Linked DNA regions of Homo sapiens: region 2 is linked to region 1. Evidence: promoter capture Hi-C in 16 types of primary human blood cells and fetal thymus (Javierre and others, 2016). All regions are on one chromosome and are shown on one strand. The core of a region is centred on a gene start or on the middle of the fragment in contact, and the rest is flanking DNA. Distances in the headings are between cores, read along the strand shown.

Evidence for each region. The method cuts DNA at HindIII sites, captures the fragments that hold promoters and counts their contacts. A CHiCAGO score of 5 or more calls a contact.
Region 2: a fragment that was not itself captured here is called in contact with the fragment with the promoter of SLITRK2 in region 1 in 1 of 17 cell types (endothelial precursors); the score reaches 5.8 in endothelial precursors.

What each region holds. Positions count from the first base shown.
Region 1 is chrX:145,814,302-145,821,182 of GRCh38, forward strand. SLITRK2 (SLIT and NTRK like family member 2) reads left to right here and starts at 3,528. Exons shown (of 5, transcript NM_032539.5): 1 at 3,528-3,725; 2 at 6,173-6,235. The HindIII fragment of the contact is 7,249 bases long and covers 1,237-6,881 here.
Region 2 is chrX:147,828,513-147,835,393 of GRCh38, forward strand. No RefSeq gene overlaps it. Among named protein-coding and RNA genes, the nearest start is that of FMR1-AS1, 80 kb to the right of the region's middle. The HindIII fragment of the contact is 2,123 bases long and covers 2,553-4,675 here.

The sequences.
Region 1 (6,881 bases), core at 2,278-4,777:
AAATTAAGATGTTGGTTTCTGACTAAAATCAACCATTTCACCAAGAATGGGAGTAAGGGTAAGTTACTTAAATTTTCTGAGTCTCACTTTCCTCTTTTGTAAAGTCTGGCTAATCATACTGGCCTGTTGAGGATTGTCATGAGAAACATAGAAAACAGATATAAAATATTTTGTATAACTTATTTATTTTAAGAAGTGAGTTAAAAATTTTTTTAGTTTAAGATTTATTTGCACATACATGTACCACCGTTCAATTTTCAAGAGTTCTGTATACATCCCATCCTTACTGACTCCACATAGCAGGTGCCAGTTTTACACATGGGGAACTGAAATTGGTGTAATGCTGTTTTTGTCCCATTGTGAGAAAGTAGCACGGGTGGAATTTGAACCCAGGTCATTGGGCTCCAAGGGCTTGGATATGTATTTGATTAAAAGAAAAACTGCCCTGGGTCTTGGCCCAGCACTATTTCAATCAGGCCAAAATGCCTGCCAAATAATCCAAATAATTGAATTGAATTGAAAAATATCCACCTTTTCAATAACATCAGGAACAAAAGTCTACAATATCCTGTAAACTATAATTACTAATATTAAGGGCATGTCCGCTTTGTTGCGTTTCTTTATTTAGGAATTTGTTCTGTGGCACTCTTCTTTGAAACCTTTGGTTGGAAAGAAACTATGTTCACTGAAAATGCAGCACATTTTGTCTTCTTTTATATGTTTTAAAGCTTTCTAGTTCTGGATAGGTGTGAAGAAGTTGAAAAAGCAACATTCTCAGGTAAATTACGTACTACACAGTAATAGGACATCCTTTACATCATCCTGGAAACATATGCGCTTTTTATCTCACTCATCGCAGGTGAAATTTCTGGTTTTCTTCTAACCTTAGAATGAAATTATAAAAACCCAGGCAAGATTTAGTTTTATTTCTCTGTTTTTCCACTAGTTTTCCAATCGGGATCTCTATGTTGTTTAGTAACACGAACTTCACAATAGAAAGTAGCTTACAGTAAACCAAACCCCCACCACATGCAATTTACCTATATAACAAACTTGCACACGTACACCTGAACCTAAAATAAAAGTTTTTCAAAAAGAAAACAGCACATGGATATAAAGATACATTTACAGTGCTAGTATAAAGAAGAATAATGTGATTTTTATTAATGAACAGAAGTACATTAATATGGTGTCTCTAGTATTCAATTCTATTTGGAAATTTTCCTCTAACACAGAAGCTTTTAGAAAATTCAGCATAAAGCAGCTTTCAAATAAATTGGCATATTTAAATTTTTCACAGACTTCAAACTCTCCTCCATTATAACTGTCTATGCAAAACCCTCTCAGAAAGTTTTATATTGCTCATCAATTTTCGTGTCTGTGCATTCAAAGCACAGCTATCCACCTACTTGAAAATTTTATGCTGACAAAAAGAAAAGTCTGCTCTTTTTAATTTTGTCTTACTATCAGTGTGGTCCCATGTGGAAAGGCAGGCTGCTAAATGCTTTTCGAAGGCTGGTGAACAGGTTAGACTTGCTTACAAGGCTAATTAAAATTGATGCATGCCATCTATTACATGTTACTACTGGATCTAAATAAAGTATCACTTTTCATCATTAATGCCATGTTCCTTCTCTACTCTGTATAGAAGTTTTTGCTTATTTTGTATGTTCCCTTTGGCTACAGACACATCACCCTTCTTAGTAAACTGTCTGAGTTTTTCAGCATGACTGTCTCATTATTTCTGTATTGGAATGGCCTCTTAGCTCTGTGTTTTGCAGTTGTTTATAACATCTACTAAAAGCGACATGAAAAGATGACACAGTCAGAAATACGGTAAAGACAGAAGTAACAGTATTAACTGACCTCATTTAGTTAATAATATGATGTGCTCAGTGCACTGCTTTTAGTCTGTAGCAAACAGCACATTGGATGTTTACACTAATACAGATATTGTAAAAAGAAGAGCAATGCTTCTGGATATATAACCGTACATACACTGCCCACGTGCTTATGTGAGAACTATGTTATTCCGAAGTTGCTTATCTGAATGGTAGGAAGATTTCAAAAAGGCTTTCTCAAGAATGAAATAAAAGGAACAGTAATGACCCTTACAACTCCGAAGATACGATTATAATTCTTCCGACTATTATTAAAGCAAACTCTGTACATCTTCATAATATAAGATTGCCAGTAGTTTTCTTTTTAAAAAGCCCAGCATAATCTCCTTAGAAAACCATTATGAAAGAAAGCCAAGAAGAGAGGACAGGAGAAGCACAAAAGATTCCCACGGGAAGGACAAGAAAAAGGTGGTTGTCAGTGCTGTGAGAACGAGTTGAAAGGCATGGGAAATATGGAAACAGACAAATTCCAATGCAGATCCACTAGCTGGAGAGGTAATTTTGCGTCTAATTTTGCACCTCTCTCCTCGCCTCCCCGTCTGCTCTCCACCATCACGCTTTTCGACAGTAAGAAGGATTTGGGGTTTTGCAGACTCTAGCGGGCATGAAAAGGATAGGGGGTGGCAACGACTTGAATTAATGACGTTCTCCTACAGGATGGAGGGGAAAATGACTTAGTGTCATCAAATGAACTCCCTACTCCTGGCATAAATTTATCAAACTGCAACTTTATCTCGAATACTCTGGAAGAGTAGAGGAGAGGCCCTAGAGAAAGCAAGTCTTGAGGGGAAACGCAATGCTCTTGGCAAAAACCGCACCTCCCTCTTGAACTACACTGACTCTTTTCACAGAGCGCCTTCCTTTAATAGAATCACAACCACCTGGACTACTAATAAGAGGAAGAAGAAAGGAGAAAAGGGAAGGGAGGATGGCAAAAATCACGCTCTAGAAGATCCAGGCAACGTCGTCGTGAAGAATAAAGGGAATCAAAATGGGCACTGGAACGCTGCTAAGGGCTTGCTTTGTTAACACACTTGCACAACTCAAGTTCAGCTCTATCTTATGTTGAAAGTCCTTGTTTACGATCCTCGTAGGAGGTTCTTAAATATCTGCCTGCGAACTCCCAAAGACTGGGCGCTTACTAGTTAGGGGAGGCAGCTGTCCCGGAGGGTGTCCAGCTCGGATGGCTGACTGCTCTTTCACTTGTCGTTAACTTCCACCCAGTAGTCTTAGTCTCCCCTTGGACATGGTACCGACCGTGTGCCATTCTTATTTCACTTGACCGAGCCCGAGCTGCAGCCCAGGGTGGAAGCCGCAAGGGCTGGGCAGAGTTCCAGGCAAGAGGGACCGAGAGGCGTGAGCAGTGCTCCGCAGCGCTTGTCAGAGAAATGGAGCAGCGGCTCCTTTGTGGGCTCTTACATCCCCGTCCTGGGTGCACAGCCCGGATATTTGATCTGTGGGGTGATTGATAAGTGAGGGAGAGGGGGGACGCGATCCCTCCCTCCCTCCTCCCTCCCTCCTCCCTCCTCACTCCCTCCTCCCTCCTCCCTCCCTCCTCCCTCCTCCCTCCCTTCTTCCCCTCTCCTCCCTCCCGCTTTACTTCCCTCCTCCCTCTCGCCTCCCTCCCTCCTTCCTGCAAGAAGCGTTGCCCGTTGGCTAGCTGCTCGGTGGGGATCTGCCTGCCCTGGGGGCGCCGCCCGCGCTCCCCGCGGTGCTCTCGCTCCTGGGCTGCGCCAGTCCGAGGCGGTGCCGGCTCCTTTGCCTCCCCGAGTCGCAGATGCTGCGGGCGCCTCCGGGAAAAGATCTGGGCGGCGCGCTCGCTCGGTAAGTTCTGAGCACTCAGGGACGCGGTGGCGACGCGGCCAGTGAGCCGGCTTTCCTCAGTCCGTTGCCTTTCCCGGCCACCTCTCCTTGCGAGGGGCACCAGCGTGGGGAGGCTGGGCGCCATCCGCGGAGGGCAGCTCGCTGGCGGCCGCCCTCTACCCTCAATCCCCACTGGAGATTCCTCACCCCGGGACCGTCCGCGCGGGCGTGGTCGGGCTCCGCGCCTCGCGCAGCGGGGTGGCACAGGCGGCCAGGGAGGGCCCACGCACCCGGCGCGAGCTAGAAGCCTCCGGTCGGCCTGCAGTGCCCAAGTCCCATGGCGAGGGCAGCCCGAGTGGCCGTCGCGGCTGTAGGTCCGCATGCCGGGCACCGCACCAGGCGTCTAGCAGGTAGGGGCAGGGAAGGTAGGGCTGCGCTGGCGGCCGGTGCCCAGTTACCGGCGATCGGGGACGCTCGGAGACACCTGGTCTCCCGGAAGCGCCCTTCGGAAATGGGATTCGACCCGGCTTGCGGGCGGCGGGTGTTTAGAAGAAGAGGCTGCGGGCAAGCAGTGCCCCCTCTCTGGTTCCCCGGACTCCTCTTAGCCCCCTCGTGGCCTGATGGGCGGCCGGGACGGAGGTGGGCTGTAAGCCCGCCGGCACCCACCGTGTCCTGTGGAAGGCTTGGAGACCTGAGCCAGGCTCTACTCGGTTAGATGCGAGTGAGACAGGCGACGGAGTTCGTCTTTAAGCCTCCCTTGCCTCAGCAAGGAGAGGGAGCGTTTTCCTTATTTTAATGACCGCCTTTCCCTCCCTTGGGGTCCCAGTTCACCCTGAACCTTTCCACAGCCTTAAAAGCCCGCTCTCCCTAGCGGAGTGCTGCGGCAGTTCTTCAGAAGACACGGGGCCAAATGAAACTTACTTAAAGTGGTTATCGCGTTTCAGGCTGATTTGTTCCTAGTAACTACGTTTTGGAAAGCAGCTGTGGACTCTCAAGGACAGGCAGGAACGAAGACCTCCTTAGGGTCCGAGTGTCGCTTCCCACAGTTAGATTACCCATGAATTTCCTTGATTCTGTAGGTCTCAAGAATCTCATGAGCCCCCAACCACCTCCACCTTTCTCTCTGAATCTCTCTCCTGTCTCTGAAATTCTTCGCAAAAATAATCTGTCCTCAAGGAATATTGAAAGCGTCATCAATGTCTTGAAGGAAATTACTGTATCTGAGAACCGAAACTAGTATTTGATGTTTCACTTTCAAATACATTTTTTTTTAATAAAAAGGATACCTTTAAGTAAAACACTACCACTGCTATTTACGTTTAAGTAGATTTTTAATTCATATTAAGCAGTAGTGTGCTTTTTGGAAAGATGATGGACTGGGACTCATAATCCCTGGGTTTTGTTTCTATTTGTAGTTTCTTGAGTAAGTCAGCACTTTCCCTGGTTAAGAAATGACCTCATCTGTAAAATGAACCTGACTTCTAAGGTCTTGTTCGGCTCTCACGTCTTTACTTCAGTTAAATATTGACATAATACATGTTTGTTGAATGAATGACTGAATGAATAAATCTTATTGCTCTAGGAACTATGTGCTTTTAACCTTTGGAAATACATAGAAACAAATGCCTCCTTTGCTAGGAAAGGGAGCTTAATTGTGCTCCCACTGCATCAGACTGCTTCCATCTAATGATGCAATTGCAATACAGGGTGGGAGGCCATCCACAGGGCTGTCCCTCTGCCTCAGAGCTCATCTCAAGTTTGCCCTTCTCTATGGAGAAGGAAAATTTGAGTCTCCAGAAGGAAAGTATTTTGCTAAACGCCAAGCAAGAATTAGAGGGTAAGGGGGCTTCTGATGCCTGGTCCAAGGCTCTTAGAAGAAGAAGAAGGAGAAAGGGAGAAAGCTCAAGAAAATAATGCACAGATCACCAGCTACAGGTGGCCCTAGTGCCTAAGTTTATAAACTACCCCCGCCCTTCCCGGAGAGAAAGGAGCTTGTATAAAGGGAACAATCCTAGAACCTAGGCTTAACAAGGAAGGAGAAGGGGAGAAGCAAGGGTCATTCTGTTCTCAAGTGGTTTGTTGTATCTGTGTGTTTATCTATTCCACATTTGGCCAGGCAGTGGGACTCCGGGAAAGCAAGCTGAAGTGTTTTGTGGGACAGGCACATCATTTGGTCAACTCCTTTTCCCTGGTTGATTCCCTCCTTTTCCTGACCCATCTCCCCCTTCCTACCAGAGGCAACCAAGGCCTTTCCAGGCAACAGCAGACATTATTTACCCCTTGCGAATTGATTCCACAATGGAAGACTCTTGGGTCCAAGGAGCTGTAAGATAATTAAGGAGAAAACAGATAATGAAGGCAAAAATCCAACACCTGGCCATTAGCAATGCTCTGGAAAGGCTATTTAAACCCGCATTGGATATCAGAGCTGGGAGGGCCCATACAGTCTACCTACCTGCCTTTTGCAGATGGACACAGGAAGATCCAGAAGCTAGTGGCACATCTAGCAACAGAGCCAGATCAGAACCCAGGTAAGCTCGGTCTCAGGCCAGGATTCCTTTTCCATCTCCTCTCTTTCTCAGGAGCCAGTCTTCCTGCACCAGCTTCCTCTTTTCTCCTAGCTCCCCTGCCCCTGCAGCCTGGAGGGCTCAACCACCCTTCCTTTGGCTCCCACTCCCAGCTGAGGCTCAGCCTGGCAGTGCTTTTCTGACACCCACTTCTTTTCTCCTTCCTCCAGGCAAGAAGTGCACGTTTAAACCTCATTATCTGGCTAAGTATAAACCTCAGGGAGAAAAGGGGTTTGTTTTTGTTTTTCTCAGTCTATAAGCTAACATTGAGCTGACTTTCAGAGTCCAGGCAAATATGTTTGGTGGGTCACCACCCAGAAAGGAATTCTCTTAGCACTGAATCAGGGCTCTGTATGTAAAGTATAAATCCCCTAAGAGAACTCCTCACCCTCCTACACAGACACATTGGTGCATGCACACACACCCCACTCTCTGCACAGAGAGCATCTGAGCTAGGAGCTGGCAAGTGGGGCACCAGTCCTGTAGCAAAGAGGCACACCACACACACACACACACACACACACACACACTCTCTCTCTCTCTCTCTCTCACTCACACACACACACACACACACACACACACGCTTCTCCCTTGCTTGGGAATCTGGGAG
Region 2 (6,881 bases), core at 2,364-4,863, 2.0 Mb after region 1:
CCACCCATCCCAGAAGCTCAGCCAGCCTCACCTCTCACTGGCATTCACCACGGGACTTTGAGGCACCTAGCCTGAGGGAGCTCATCCAGACAGCAGCCCAGCAGCCGAGAGGGCTCCAGAGGGCTCCAGCAGCCCAGAGGGAGCTCATCCCAGACAATCAAGAGGAAAAGAGGGGAAGTGAGAAAGAGACGGAGACCTGCTATCGTGGCCAACGGTCCCACGAGGAGGGAACAGTGGTCCACACACAGGATTCAGCCTCTGATCAAGCCCAGCAGGCCCATGCTCACCTGGAACCTGCGCTGGCCTGTGAGCGCTGCGTGCAGCCCCGGCTCCCACCCACACCTCTCTCTTCACACTTCCCCGTGAGCAGAGAGAGCCAGCTCCGGCCTCGGCCAGCCCCAGAGAGGGGCCCTCGTAGGGCAGCGGTGGGCTGAAGGGCTCCTCAAGCACGGCCAGAGCAGACGCCAAGGTCGAGGAGGCACTGAGAGCGAGCGAGGGCTGCTAGCATGTTGTCACCTCTCATCATGACCCATTGGTATGCTGTCTTCAAGAGACCCATCTCACATGCAAAGACACACATAGGCTCAAAATAAAGGGATGGAGGAAATTTTATCAAGCAGATGGAAAACAGAGAAAAGCAGGGGTTGCAATCCTAATTTCTGACAAAACAGATTTTAAACCAACAAAGTTCAAAAAAGACAAAGAAGGGCATTACATAATGGTAAAAGGTTCAATTCAACAAGAAGAGCTAATTATCTTATATATGCACCCAATATGGGAGCACCCAGGTTAATAAAGCAAGTTCTTAGAGACCTACAAAGAGCCTTAGACTCCCACACAATAATATTGGGAGACTTTAACACCTCAATGTCAATATTAGATCATTGAGACACAAAATTAACAAAGATATTTAAAACCTGAGCTCAGCTCTGAATCAAATGGAGCTGATAGGTGTCTACAGAACTCTCCACCCAAATTCAACAGAATATACATCTTCTCATTGCCACATGGCACTTACTCTAAAATTGATCACATAATCAGAAGTAAAACACTCCTCATCAAATGCAAAATAACTGAAATCCTAACAGTCTCTCAGACCACAGTGCAATCAAATTAGAACTCAAGATTAAGAAATTGACTCAAAATAACACAATTACATGGAAATTGAAAAACCTTCTCCTGAATGACACTTGGGTAAATAATAAAATTAAGCAGAAATCAAGAAATTCTTTGAGACTAATGAGAAAAAAGAGACAATGTACCAGAATCCCTGGGATGCAGCTAAAGCAGTGTTAAGAGGGAAATTTATAGTACTAAATGCCCACATCAAAAAGCTAGAAATATCTCAAGTTAACAACCTAACATCTCAACTAAAAGAACTAGAGAAGCAAGAGCAAACAAACCCCAAAGCTAGCAGAAGACAAGAATTAACTAGGATCAGAGCTGAACTGAAGGAGATAGAGACACAAAAAACCCTTCAAAATAACAACAAAACCAGGAGCTGGTTTTTTGAAAAGGTTAATAAAATAGACAGACCACTAGCTAAACGAATAAAGAAGAAAAGAGAGAAGATGCAAATAAACACAATCAGAAATGATAAGGGGGATATCACCACTGACCCCACAGAAATACGAACAGCCATCAGAGAATACTATAAACACCTCTATGCACATAAACTAGAAAATCTAGAATAAATGGATAAACTCCTGGACACATACACCCTCCCAAGACTGAAACAGGAAGAAATTGAATCCCTGAATAGACCAATAATGAGTTCTGAAATTGAGGCAGTAATAAATAGCCTATCAACCAGAAAAAGCCCAGGACCAGATGGATTCACAGCTGAATTTTACCAGAGGTACAAAGAAGAGCTGGCATCATTTATACTAAAACAAATTTTAAAAATTGTAGGGACTCCTCCCTAACTCGTTTTATGAGGCCAGCATCATCCTGATATCAAAACCTGGCAGAGGCACAGTGAAAAAAGAACACTTCAGGCCAATATCCTAGATGAACATAGATGCAAAAATCCTCAATAAAATACTGGCAAACAAAATCCAGCAGCACATCAAATAGTTTATCCACCATGATCAAGTTGGCTTCATCCCCAGGATGCAAGGTTGGTTCAACATACACAAATCAATAAATGTGATTCATCACATAAACAGATCTAAAGACAAAAACCACATGATTATATCAATAGATGCAGAAAATGCCTTTGATAAACTTCAACATCCTTTCATGTTAAAAGCTCTCAATAAACTAGGTATTGAAGGAACATACCTCAAAATAAAGAGGGCCATATATGACAACCCACAGCCAACAGCACACTGAATGGGCAAAAGCTGGAAGCATTCCCTTCGAAAACCAGCACAAGACAAGAATGCCCTCTCTCACCATTCCTATTCAACCTAGTATTGGGAGTTCTGGCCAGGGCAATCAGGCAATAGAAAGAAATAAAGCATATTCAAATAGGAAGAGAGGAAGTCAAACTATCTTTTTTGCAGATGACATGATGCTATATCTAGAAAACTCCATTGTCTCAGCCCAAAAGCTTCTTAAGCTGATAAGCAACTTCAGCAAGTTACAGGATATAAAATCAATGTACAAAAACAGCTAGCATTCTTATACACCAACAACAGGCAAGCAGCGAGCCAAATCATGAATGAACTTCATATATGAAACATATATGAAAACATACGTGTATGAAACATATATGAAAAACATACGTGCATGAAACATATATGAAAACATATGTGTATGAAGCATATATGAAAACATACATGTATGAAACATATATGAAAACATACGTGTGTGGAACATATATGAAAAACACGTGTATGAAACATATGAAACACATACACGTATGAAACATATATTAAAAACATACGTGTATGAAACATATATGAAAAACATACGTGTATGAAACATGAAAAACATACGTGTATGAAACATATGAAAAACATACATGTATGAAACATATATGAAAAACATATATAAAAAACAATATATGAAAAAAGCTCGACATCACTGATCATTAGAGAAATGCAAATCAAAACCACACTGAGATACCATCTCACACCAGTCATAATGGCTATTTTTAAAAAAGTCAAAAAACAACAAACACAGATGCTGGCAAGGTTGTGGAGAAAAAGGAACACTTTTACATTGTTGGTGGGAGTGTGAATTAGTTCAACTATTGTGAAAGACAGTGTGATGATTCCTCAAAGACCTAGAGGCAGAAATACCATTTGACCCAGCAATCCCATTACTGGATATACACCCTAAGGAATATAAATCATTCTATTATAAAGATACATGCAAACGTGTTCATTGCAGCACTGTTCACAATAGCAAAGACATGGAATCAACCTAAATGTCCATAAATGGTAGACTGGATAAAGAAAATGTGGTTATGCAGCCATAAAAAAGGAATGAGATGATGTCCTTTGCAGGGACATGGGTCAAGTTGGAAGCCATTATCCTCAGCAAACTAACGCAGGAACAGAAAACCAAACACCACGTGTTCTCACTTATAAGTGGGAGCTGAACAACGTGAACACATGGACACAGGGAGGGGAACAACACACAATGGGACCTGTTGGTGGGTGGGTAGGGGAGGGAGACCATTAGGAAAAATACCTAATGCGTGCAGGGCTTAATACCTAGGTGATGGATTGATAGGTGGAGCAAACCACCATGGCACACGTTTACCTTTGTAACAAACCTGCACATCCTGCACCAGTACCCCAGAACTTAAAATTTAAAAAGTAACCTGAACCTTAAGCAGATAGTAGAGGAAACCAAGAAACAACATGACTTGTACTGAAGAGTCTCCTTAAATCCCAGGAACTGACTGTACCAAGTACCTCTGGAAAGAGGGGGGAAGAAGAGGTTGAAAACAGCAGTGCTTGAAAGTCTGAACATCTGGAGTCTCAGATGTATACTCCTTTGATCCCTGGCTGTGTGGTTGACTACTGTTCCCCAAACTCATCAGAGGACCAAAGGTATAGCCTGTGTAGAAGATAAAACATATGTCTGGACTAGAGAATATGAAGCATAGATGAAGGTGGAGATACCATATCGAAAACTGGGATTAAGTAAAATTCTCTGAGCACTGACTATTGACACCTTAAACCTTCTTCATCAACTGGGATCCCAAAACACTAGATTGTACATTCCAGGCAGGAGATGGGAGGATGTCTCTCTGCAGGATATTACTAGCACAAGAAGAAAAATCTAAAAACACTGAGTCTAAAGGTACTGACAATCAGGGGTTCCCCAATGAAACAGTGCAACTATACCATTGGCAGTGAACCCTACAGCCCAAAAACCCTACCCACATGCTCAACGTTGCTAGTAATCTTTTTAGTATCTCCCTCATAACTATGAATGGACACCTAAAGATCACAGACATCTGGAGAAACTCTGACATGAGAGAAATCAAAACAAGCAAACAGAGGTGAATAACCTGAAAAAGAGAGTGATGATTCAGGAAGATGACAACTTCAAAAACAAAAACAAAAAAATCATACACATTAATGTGCCCAGCATCACAATAATGGAAACACTGAATATTGTTCTAACCAATGCGTAGTGAGGAGAGAGAAAAGAAGAAACAGGAAGTGTGATTGTTTGGGGAGTACAGGCAGTGGTTGCATAGAGTGAATTAGAAAGCTTTTCATTTTTGTTATATGACTAGCACAATTTGCATAGCATTACAATGATATGTCTATTGTAGATTTGATGGAACTCTACTGTAAAATCATCTGAGTCAGATACATGGTAAGGGTAAAATTTTTGAATATCTTTTCCTATTCTTATATTGTTATTTTCCTATTCAAACTTTCTACTATTTCTTCAGGTATTTTCTGTAATCATGAGTTTAAATGTAGGGTATAAAATTGTACATATAGAATTCTTCTTACAAATTTTAAAATATGCTCCATATATTTAATTCTGCTTTCTCATTCTTAACTTTACTTGGGTGTTTGCTCTTTTTTTCATAATCACACTTGTCAAGTTTTTTTTTCTTGTTCTTTCCAAAACCAAATTTCAGTTTTGTTGATTTATTTAATGTATTGTTGGCTTGTCTTACTGTTTTCTATAGCATTATCTGTATCAGCTCTTTCTGATTTCTTTGGGCATATTTTTTCTATTAATTTTCTAGTTTGTTGAATTAAGCACTTAATTTTTTCCCAATATTTACTGTTTTGTAATACATATGTTTAAAGCTGTACCTTGTCCTCTGAGTACATCTTTGAAGCATTTCATGGGTTTGAATATATACTACAATAACTGTTTTTCATTTTTAAATAAGTTATAATTTGAGTTTTTATTTCTTTTTTTTTAAATCCAAGAGTTATTTAGAAGGGTGTCATTTCACTCCCTGATTGTGATGGATAGGACAACCTCCTCCCCCAATCTCCCTGCAAAGATGTCCATGTCTTAATCCCTAGAAACTGTTACATTACATGGCAAAAGGGTCTTTGCAGATGTGATTGTCAACTATCTTAAGATAGGGAGGGCCCAATATAATCTCAAGAGTCCTTAAAAGATGAAAGAGAAAGGCAGCAGAGTCAGAGAAAGAGATAAGGCAATACAGAGTGATGAGGGTAACCTCTAGAAACTGGAAAAGACAAAAAAAGAATTTTCCCCTAGAGCCTCCAGAAAAAACAGAGATCTGTTGACACTTGATTTTAGCCTCATAAGATCTACTTCTGATTTCTGATCTCCAAATAATACATTTACGTTGTTTTAAATCACTAAGTGTGGGGCAATTTCTTACAGCTATAATAAGAAACTAATATATAGATTAATTTTATTACTGTCTTTTTATTAAATTTTTGATTTTGCTTCTGTGTTAAGAGAAAATGACTTGCTTAACTTCTGCTTTGGAGAATGTGTTCTTTTCCTTTGTGGCCATATTCATTATCAATCTTTGTAAATCTTTTCCTGAAAAAGATGTGAAGTCCTTCTTTGATGGATGTATGTGTGGATATGTATTATAGATATAGATATACATATAAATATAGATATGTATATAATATATATCTTAGTTGACAAGATACATATATATTCTCTTGAAAGATAATAGATTGTACTAATATACTAATATAAGATAGATCTCTATGTCTCATTTAATTGTTATATATATATATATATACCACATTTAGCATTTGGCCTTAAGTTATATCTAGTATTGATATGTGCTTTTTTAAAACATGCATTTGCCTGGTGTTTATTTCCCTATCTCTTTATTTTCAAATTCTCTGTGTCATTTAATTCATTTGGCTTATTTCTAGTATATTTCTTTATGGTATATAAAGAAATTATACCATACCATATTGTTAGAAGGGGAGTTGTGTTTAACTCTATTTAAATGTCTGTCTTTTTCTTTGAATCAGGGAATTTAACCCATACATATTTATATGATTAATGATGCTCTATTTTATGTCTTATATTTACCTTTCTTTCCTTATTTTTTTCTTTTCCACTTCTATTCCCATTCTTTTCCTTACCTTCCCCTCCCTTTTACTTTCTTGCACTTTGTTGGCTTTTTCTTTTTTGCCCCTATGCAGCTTTGTTACATTCCTATTTCTATTATTTTAGTGGCTACCCTTAAACTGTTAATAAATATTAAAAATTAACATTTTCCTTCTTCATGTACAATTAACAGGTATCTATACACTTCCCCTGAAAAAGATGAGATCTTTAGCACTCCATTACCCTTTCAGCCTGCCCTGTCCATCTTCCATATTATAGTGATCTGGAAAATTAGTTCTAGGGATTTTTTTTAAGTTATGCATCAACTGTTATTTAAGCACATATATAAGTATTTCTAGCCTCTTCGTGTACTTTTGTTTCTTGCATTTCCAATT